Linked DNA regions of Homo sapiens: region 2 is linked to region 1. Evidence: promoter capture Hi-C in 16 types of primary human blood cells and fetal thymus (Javierre and others, 2016). All regions are on one chromosome and are shown on one strand. Each heading gives the region's core, a stretch centred on a gene start or on the middle of the fragment in contact. The rest is flanking DNA. Distances are from core to core; before and after follow the strand shown. Region 1 holds the start of ELMOD1 (ELMO domain containing 1). Region 2 has its middle 26 kb from the start of RAB39A.

Region 1 (4,380 bases), core at 579-3,078:
TTCCACAGAGGAATTCCTTATAGGTCTTTACGAAGATTACGTATCTATCTCACCAAAGCTGGGAGAAAAGCAGGCTTTTTCTGCAAAAGAGAACCATTTCGAGTACTGATTGCTGTGTGTGCTGGTTTACTGGTAAATGGTGGTGATGCAATGGAAGTTATAACCCAAAGTGTAGGAAGACGCCCTACAACCTGTTCCAGTCCTCAACGTTCCCTACGTTAATGGGTTCTTCTTTCAGTGTTCTTGACAGTGATGTCTTACAGAGAAGACATTTATTTCTTCTTCCTATGAAAAAGATTAAGATGAGAGAAATACCTCCCAATGTAGATACAAGAGTGTGCCTTTGGCAAAATACCAACTAAACTGACCCCCGAGAAAACTTCTGGGGGAGGGAATGACTAAGTCTGCTGTAACTACGTGTTGTCATAATAGGTTAATGAATTAAGACATTTATCCCAATACAAGCATACTACCTGCTTTCCACCATATTGGCAGCACCAGTTAAGGACGGTTGTCAAGCCACCGGCACAAAACGTATACATTGCAGAGATGCAGAACAATGCCTGGATGCCTGCCCAAAATTGGTCTCTCCAAATGACAGACTCAATTGATAGTACCAATCTACGGCCCACTGGGGGTTAGCAGCGTATTTTCCTAGGTGGTGGGGGAAAGGGATGAAATGTGGAAAGCTCAGGGCACTGTGCAGAGCAGAAAGGCTGACAACATATTCATTAAACTTGATCTGAAGCAAGTGAGCCCGTGAGGTCGTTCCTGAAATATTCATAAGATGTGTTACCGAACTCGCCGCTTAGAGGTTGAGCATAAACACTGAGTCAGAACAGCCCGTACCCACACTTGGAAAACAAAAAAAAGCACCCACAACAGCTCACCCCACCACCACACTCCACTGCTCTGCTTTTAACAGCCCCGTCAGCTGTCAGCTGTCACTCCCCACTCGGCTGTCCAATTCTACCTGCCCGGGAAAGAGATGCTCCAATATTGAAGTGCGGAGTTTCCCAGCAGTTGGAGGAGGCGCAGCTCAACAGCCCAGCCGACCGCTCCTCCCAGCTCGCTGCGCGGAGGACCCCACAGTCCGGCGGCCCCGCAGCCCGGCTGCCTAGCTCCTCCCTGGAGACCGAAGCCCACAAGGCAAGGGGTTCCCAGGGACCCAGACCAGCCCCTCGCCCCAGCCAGGCCGCCCTTGTCCCGCCTTCCATTTTGGCTCTGTCTGGGATCCCTTCCCCGAGCCCTCGGCGTTAGGTCGCTAGGCGACCTACGCCCGGGCCGAGATGCAAACAGCCTCTCGCGCCGACCTGCAGCCTCTCGGGTGTTAATTGGGAGGACAGGATAGAAGGGGAAATCACTGTCCTGGGTGACCCCGGAGCCCCTGCACCAAGGCAGAGTGCACTTTCATTCCCGTTCCCTCTCTGCCCCCGATGCTTAGCATTTCTGCTGCCTCCCAGGCACAGCGCAGCTTGCGTGATGCCTCGCGTCCTCGCCGCACCTCTCTCCTCCCCAAGGGCATTCGCCCCTACTCCCTAGGCTCCTCTGGGGTCGCCAATCACCTGGACTCTGGCGGCGGTAGGCTCAGCAGCTCCCGGCGCGCGGCGGCGTGGTCTTCATCTCCGCCTTCCCCAGGCGCTCCGGCTACGCGCTCCGCGGCGGCGAGCGACGCGCTCGGTCCCGGGCGCCGAGGCTGGACAGGGGCGGCCGCGGCTGCCGCACTGGCTGCGGGCGCGGAAGGGGCGGGGGCGGGGCAGGAATCTGGGTCGCGTGGAGCGGAGCAAGCCGGGATGCACCCGGGGCGGCTGGCGGCGAGGAGGCGACCGAGAGCAGCGGGGGAGGGCGTGCAGAGGCTTCCCTGGGAGCACGAAGCGGGCGGCTACTGAGCATGCCCAGTCCGGGAGCCGGGGGCGCGGGCGCGGTGCTGGGGGAGAGAGCGCGGCACCCAGTGCCGGAATCTGGGGGGAAAGGGTTAAATCTGCGGACCCCGCTGCTGTGGGAGGTGGCTGGTGTGGCCCAGTTTAATTGCTCCCGGGTGGCCTCCCTGGAGGAGCCCACGACAGGAAGATGGTGAACCTGAGATGACCTGTCAATGGGATTCCCAGACAGTCCGGGCAAGGTGTGTTCCCCGCCCTCTCCCTGGATAATTGTCCAGAAGTCAAACTTTGTTTTAGTTCAGCTCCAACCTCCCTCGTCTCACCGAGCACCCAGTGACTCTTCCAATCCTGATCCCCACCCTTCACCTGCCTTCCCGGGACTGCAGAACCCTATCCCTCACCCCAACCGGCAGCCCCCGCCTTTCCCACTCCTGGCCCAGTCGGGTCAGATTCTCAAAGAGCCAGCTCTTTAATTAGGTGTAATTGAGAGATCGTGTCAATCCTGCGAGGTCCATATCTGCATTTCAACAAGGGCTTTAGAAGCAATACCGTAACCCCGGGGTTAATTATAACAGGATGAATTATAGACACCCTCGTCCGGGGCTGTTTGGGGGAACATTGCTTCGTGGGGCCCCAGAAGCCACTTCATACAGACAGAGAGAGAGAGAGAGAGAGAGAGAGAGAGAGAGAGAGAGAGAGAGAGAGAGAGAGAGAGAGAGAGAGAGAGAGAGAGAGAGAGAGAGAGAGAGAGAGAGAGAGAGAAACCTGTGCCTTCCGGATTGCATTTCATGTTTGATGAAGAACGTTTTCTCCATAGCTAATCAAAAAAGTCTCTTTAATGAGGCCGCATGGGGTTGGGGAAAGACCAAATGAGCTTCGAGGTCGGCGCTTATTTTAGTTTCATTCATCACTCCAAGCCGGTTACCTGACCGTCTTGTGCCTCTGTTTCCTCACCTGTAAAACAAAGGGTGGTTAATACCTACCTCTGCGGGCTGTTGTGAGGATTACTTGGGCAGCTGGCGGCGCGGAGCAGCCTGGATACCAAAGCATCTGCCTGTCCCGCAGTGGATGTTCCCTGAATAAAAGTCTCTGCAGGTTCCACCTCCACTATTCTGTGTTTATGAAAAGTTGGGTTAGTGATAATCCTTAAATGCTGAACATTTATCTTATTTCCTCTTCACATTAAATGACCTTAAAGCCTTGACCTTTCTGATTTTTTTAATCATTGTTAAAAGCATTAGCCACTATTTACTTTTCTTTCTTTTCAGGGAGATATGAAGGATACCTCCCTGAATAAACGTCTTGGAAAAAGATAGACCTTTGGAGGGAAAAGCTTCTCGGGAGAGATTCATTAGGGATAGATTAATCCACCTGACAAAAGAATTTTACTCCATAGTCTTTTAAACGTAATTTGCTTGCATCTCCCTGTGGTCCTTGTTTCACAACTATTGCATGAAGTAATGTATGCCTGTATGGAAGGAAATTTACTTCCCATGCATACTGTTGACTATTTAAGTATCAGAATTCAAAAGATAAACTTTTTATTATCCCCCAAACATACTATTTTTTTAATAACACATTGCTTTATTCATGGTGTTCCACCCTTTCTGAAATACCATTCTCAAAAAAAAAAAAAAAAAAAAAGAAATACCATTCTCTCTCATTCTATTTCATGAAGTGCTACTCACTCTTCAAGCTCAAATGTCACCTTCTCTCTGAAGCCTACCCTGAACCTCAAGACAGAGTGAATGCTGTGCTCTCATAGCACCAGTGCATACTGCTATCACAGTACTCATCACAGCCTATCACTGTGGTTCAAGCAATGTAAAACTACTTACTGAGCAACTGTTATTTGCAGGCGCCATTCTACATGTTAGGAAAATAAGAACAAACAAGACAAAGTTCCTGCCCTCATGGAACTTACAGTCTAGTTGAAAAAGACAGAAAATAAACACCTAAACTGTAAATAATCACTAAGGACAGAAGTCTAGTAATTCTGTTAATTTTTGTCTTTGTGTTATCCATCAAATTACGCTATAGAGTCTTGACTCATCCTTCCAAAAAACATCAATAAAAATATTAATATTGGCTCTAGGCCAAACAAATGACATGGACATGGATCTCTGCCAGTTTGTTGCTGAACCAGTGACTTTTACTCCTTTCAGTTGATTCCCTCAGCTAAAACTTTCCTAAACTCAAACCACTCAAGGTAGGTAGCTGCAATCCCATGTGATGAATGGAAAATGGTAGGGGAGGGCTAGAGAGTTTAATCTCCACAACAAATTATATCCTTTATCTAACCTTTAGGAATGGCATTTCTAAAATGTCCAGAATCAACCTGGATCCCCAGATCTCCTGCATCCCAAAAGTCTCTTCCAGGGTCTTGCACACCACTCCCACCCTCTCACCTTTTCACCATCTTTGGCCTCTATTTATGTCAATAGTTATTCTCTGTCATACATCTTCTGTTTGAATCTACCTACTGTCTGAATGACAAGCT
Region 2 (4,514 bases), core at 1,842-4,341, 310 kb before region 1:
ATACTGGGGAGGTTGAGGCAGGAGAATTGCTTGAGCCCGGGAGGTAGAGGTTGCAGTGAGCAGAGATCTCCCACTTCACTCCAGCCTGCGCAAAAGAGCGAAACTCCATCTCAAACAAACAAACAAACAAAAAGGCATGGTTTGCTGGTGATGAAGAGGAAGTTTTGCAGCGAGCTGGTAGTGTTCTGCATGTTCTTTCTCTCTTCCGCAAGGGTAGATGCTCCCCGTCTCAAGTCCAGGGAAAGAGCCTCAACGGGACCACTCACTAAGCTCAATGTGTACCCCCTGCAGTTGTGGGGTGTGTTTAGCTCCACTTAGGAAATCTAAAAGGTGAGCACCTTGCTGGTTATCCCTCCTAATGGAGGAGCCAAGAAGAGGTTGCCTGTGTTGGAACTAACCTGGATTTTTTGTTCTTTGGGCAAAGGATGAGTGAGTGTTTTTCTATGGACAGAAGAAAGTCATGCATGTGAAAGAGCCAGCATGGGACTGCCTAAAATTCTGAAAGCACTTCCTGGAGCTGTACCACTGCATTCCTGTGGATGACTGCAGAAGGAGACGCAAACAACCAGCCAGAATACAGAATAGGCCAGGCACAGTGGCTCACGCCTGTAATCCCAGCACTTTGGGAGGCCGAAGCGGGTGGATCACGAGGTCAGGAGATCGAGACCATCCTAGCTAACACAGTGAAACCCCATCTCTACTAAAACATACAAAAAATTAGCCGGGCATGGTGGCAGGTGCCTGTGCCCAGCTACTTGGGAGGCTGAGGCAGGAGAATGGCATGAACCCAGGAGGCGGAGCTTGCCGTGAGCCGATATTGTGCCACTGCACTCCAGCCTGGGCAACAGAGCAAGACTCTGTCCTAAAAAAAAAAAAAAAAAATACAGAATAGAAAATATCTCCTTCTGCCAGGCATGGTGGCTCACGCCTGTAATCCCAGCACTTTGGGAGGCCGAGGCGGGTGGATTGCCTAAAGTCATGAGTTTGAGACCAGCCTGACCAATAAGGTGAACCCCATCTCTACTAAAAATACAAAACACTTTGGGAGGCCAAGGCTACCAAATTACGAGGTTAAGAGATGGAGACCATCCTGGCCAACATAGTGAAACCCCATCTCTACTAAAAATACAAAAATTAGCTGGGTATGGTGGCGTGCACCTGTAGTCCCAGCTACTCAGGAGCCTGAGGCAGCAGAAACGCTTGAACCTGGGAGGCGGAGGTTGCAGTGAATCGAGATTGCGCCACTGCACTCCAGCAGCCTGGTGACAGAGCGAAACTCCGTCTCAAAAAAAAAAAAAAAAAAAAAAAGAGCTGGGTGTGGTAGAGAGAGCCTGTAGTCCTATCTACTTGGGAGGATGAGGCAGGAGAATCGCTTGAACCTCGGAAGTGGAGGTTGCAGTGAGCCAAGATCCTGCCACTGCACTCCAGCCCAGGCAACAATGCGAGACTCCATCTTGAAAAAAAAAAAGAAAAGAAAAAAAAGAAAATATCTCCTTCTTGGCCTAGCGGTGGCTCACGCCTGTAATCCCAGCACTTTAGGAGCCTGAGGCGGGTGGATGACGAGGTCAGGAGATTGAGACAATCCTGGCTAACACAGTGAAACCCCATCTGTACTAAAAATACATTAAAAAAAAAAAATTAGCTGAGTATGGTGGCATGTGCCCGTAGTCCCAGCTACTTGAGAGGCTGAGGCAGGAGAATCACTTGAACCTGGGAGGCGGAGGCTGCAGTGAGCTGAGATCATGCCATTGCACTCCAGCCTGGGCGACAGAGAGAGACTCCATCTCAAAAAAAAAAAAAAAGAAAGAAAGAAAAAAAAGAAAAAAAGAAAATATCTCCTACTTTCTTAATAAACTTTCCGTTTGAGGCTGGGCGCGGTGGCTCACACCTGTAATCCCAGCACTTTGGGAGACCGAGGTGGGCAAATCACGAGGTCAGGAGATCGAGACCATCCTGGCTAACATGGTGAAACCCCGTCTCTACTAAAAATACAAAAAAATTAGCCGGGCGTGGTGGCGGGTGCCTGTAGTCCCAGCTACTCGGGTGGCTGAGGCAGGATAATGGTGTGAACCCGGGAGGTGGAGCTTGCAGTGAGCCGAGATCGTGCCACTGCACTCCAGCCTGGGCGACAGAGCGAGACTCCGTCTCAAAAAAATATAAAAAATAAAAAATAAACTTTCAGTTTGGTGTACCACATTCTCCAATAGTTTCCCACCAAAAGGATACATAGCAAGTCATTTTCTGAGAACTTCTGTGCTCAAAAAAGTCTTTATTTTACTCTTATATTAACACTTTTCCTGGCTATAGTGTTATGATTGAAAAATAAGTTTTCATCTGAATTTTGAAGACATCCTTGTATTGTCTCCTAGATTCCCATGTTGTGATTGAAAATTTCATTGCCATTCTCATTCTTACATGTTTGTGATCTACTTGCTTTTTTTCCTCTCTGGAAGCTTTTAGGATCCTTTTAAAAATTTTCACAAAATTTTACAATGTGTGCCTTTCTTTTTAATTGTGGGCTCTTTTATCACGGAGACTCTCACTTTTAAATTCTGGGAAGTTTTGTATTGTTGTTTCTTTGAGAATTTCCTTTTATTTATTTATTTTTTTGTTCTTCTTCTTGTGACAGGGTCTCACTCTGTTGCCCAGGCTGGAGTGCAGTGGTGTGATTATAGCTTACTGCAGCCTCAATCTCCTGGGCTCAAGCAATCCTTCCAACTCAGCCTCCTGAGTAGCTGGAATCACAGGTGTGCACCACCACACCTGGGTAATTTTTTTTTTTTTTTTTGTAGAGATGGGGTTTCTACATGTTGCCCAGACTGGTCTTGAACTCCTGGGCTCAAGTGATCCTCTTGCCTCAGCCTCCCAAAGTGCTGGGATTACATGTGTGAGCCACCGTGACTGGACCCATTTCTTATCCTTTTTCTTTTTTTTTTTTTTTTGAGACGGAGTCTGGCTCTGTCGCCTAGGCTGGAGTGCAATGGCGCGATCTTAGCTTACTGCAACCTCCGCCTCCTAGGTTCAAGCAATTCTGCCTCAGCCTCCTGAGTAGCTGGGATTACAGGTGCCCGCTACTACGCCCGGCCAATTTTTGTATTTTTAGTAGAGACGGGGTTTCACCATGTTAGTCAGGCTGGTCTCAAACTCCTGACCTCAGGTGATCCACCGGCCTCGGCCTCCCTAAGTGCTGGGATTACAGGCATGAGCCACCACACCTGGCCCCATTTCTTATTATTGTCTCTAAATGCCTAAAAGTTGAATGTAATATTTTTTGGATATATATATATTCTAATTTTCTTATTATCTCCTATTTTCTTTTTTTAAACAGAACTACTTTATTAATCTTAGAAATCAGTAATTCCAAGGGGTACCTTAACCCTGGCTCATGTTGTCAGCAGTACACTGACTTATCTCTTCTCTCTGGGAAACCTGTGATGAATGCTCTTTCTCCTCCACAGACCTTCCAAAAAGAAAAGAGCAACTTTGGTAGATGATTATGTTGTATCTCCCATTTTCTGTCTCTTCGTGTTCTTGTTTTACTTTTTGATAGAGCTTCTCAACTTTATCTTCCAATCTTTCAGTTGAATTTTTAATTTTTGCTGTCATCATTTAATTTCCAAGAGTTTGTGGTTTTTTGTTTTGTTTTGTTTTGTTTTTAATAGGGTCTGGGTCTGTCACCCAGGCAGGAGTTCAGTGGTACCATCACAGCTCTCTGCAGCTTCAAGCTTTTGGGCTTAAATGATCCACCCACCTCAGCCTCCCAGCGTAGCTGGGACTGCAGGTGTGTGCCAACATGCCTGGCTGATCTATTATTATTATTGTTTTAGAGATGGGTCTTTCTATGTTGCCCTGGCTGGTCTTTAACTCCTGGGCTCAAGCAATCTTCCCACTTTGGTCTCACAAAGTGCTGGGATTACAGATGTAAAACACCACACCCAGCCAGTTTTTTGTTGTTTTTGTTGTTGCTCTCTGATTATTTTCTTTGTACACTGTGCTCTTCTTGTTTCATGATATTAATTATTATCTTCGAAGTTTTCCTTTAGTCCCTGCTTAGTCTATGTTTGCTCTGAGTTCATTTTGTTCTCTCTGGTGGGTTGTTTTGGCTTCCGACTTTCCACAGGAGGCTTCAGCTTCCTCATTTCCACTGTCAGTTGCCATGTGTTTGATTACTTGTCTCTTCCAAAATGTGGTTGACATCCTTGTCTACTGTTGTCTTTTCTTCTGTTGTCTTTGTGGGTTTAAGTCTCTTTTGTTGTTGTTGTTGTTAATTTGTTTACTATTACTCACTGGGATTTTGGAAAGGAACAAATATAAACACATCTGCTCAGTACAATATGTTTCAAAATGACTTATTTGATGTGTGATGAACTAAGATCTAAGGGAGTGAGGTGAATTGCCCAAGCACCAAACTCTAGTGTGTGGCAAAACCAAGCTAGTACTTAGTGCTTCTGTTTTCAAGTTCAGGGTTATTATTATCAATTTCTGCTTTCCCACTCCTCCCTTTCTACCACTAG

The links. The method cuts DNA at HindIII sites, captures the fragments that hold promoters and counts their contacts. A CHiCAGO score of 5 or more calls a contact.
Region 2: a contact is called between a fragment that was not itself captured here and the fragment with the promoter of ELMOD1 in region 1, in 1 of 17 cell types (endothelial precursors). The highest score is 5.9, in endothelial precursors.

What each region holds. Positions count from the first base shown.
Region 1 is chr11:107,588,595-107,592,974 of GRCh38, reverse strand. ELMOD1 (ELMO domain containing 1) reads right to left here and starts at 1,828. Exons shown (of 12, transcript NM_018712.4): 1 at 1,566-1,828. RefSeq lists an enhancer at 1,326-1,385 and silencers at 1,636-1,775, 1,836-1,945. The HindIII fragment of the contact is 4,180 bases long and covers 1-3,215 here.
Region 2 is chr11:107,900,419-107,904,932 of GRCh38, reverse strand. No RefSeq gene overlaps it. Among named protein-coding and RNA genes, the nearest start is that of RAB39A, 26 kb to the left of the region's middle. The HindIII fragment of the contact is 1,272 bases long and covers 2,456-3,727 here.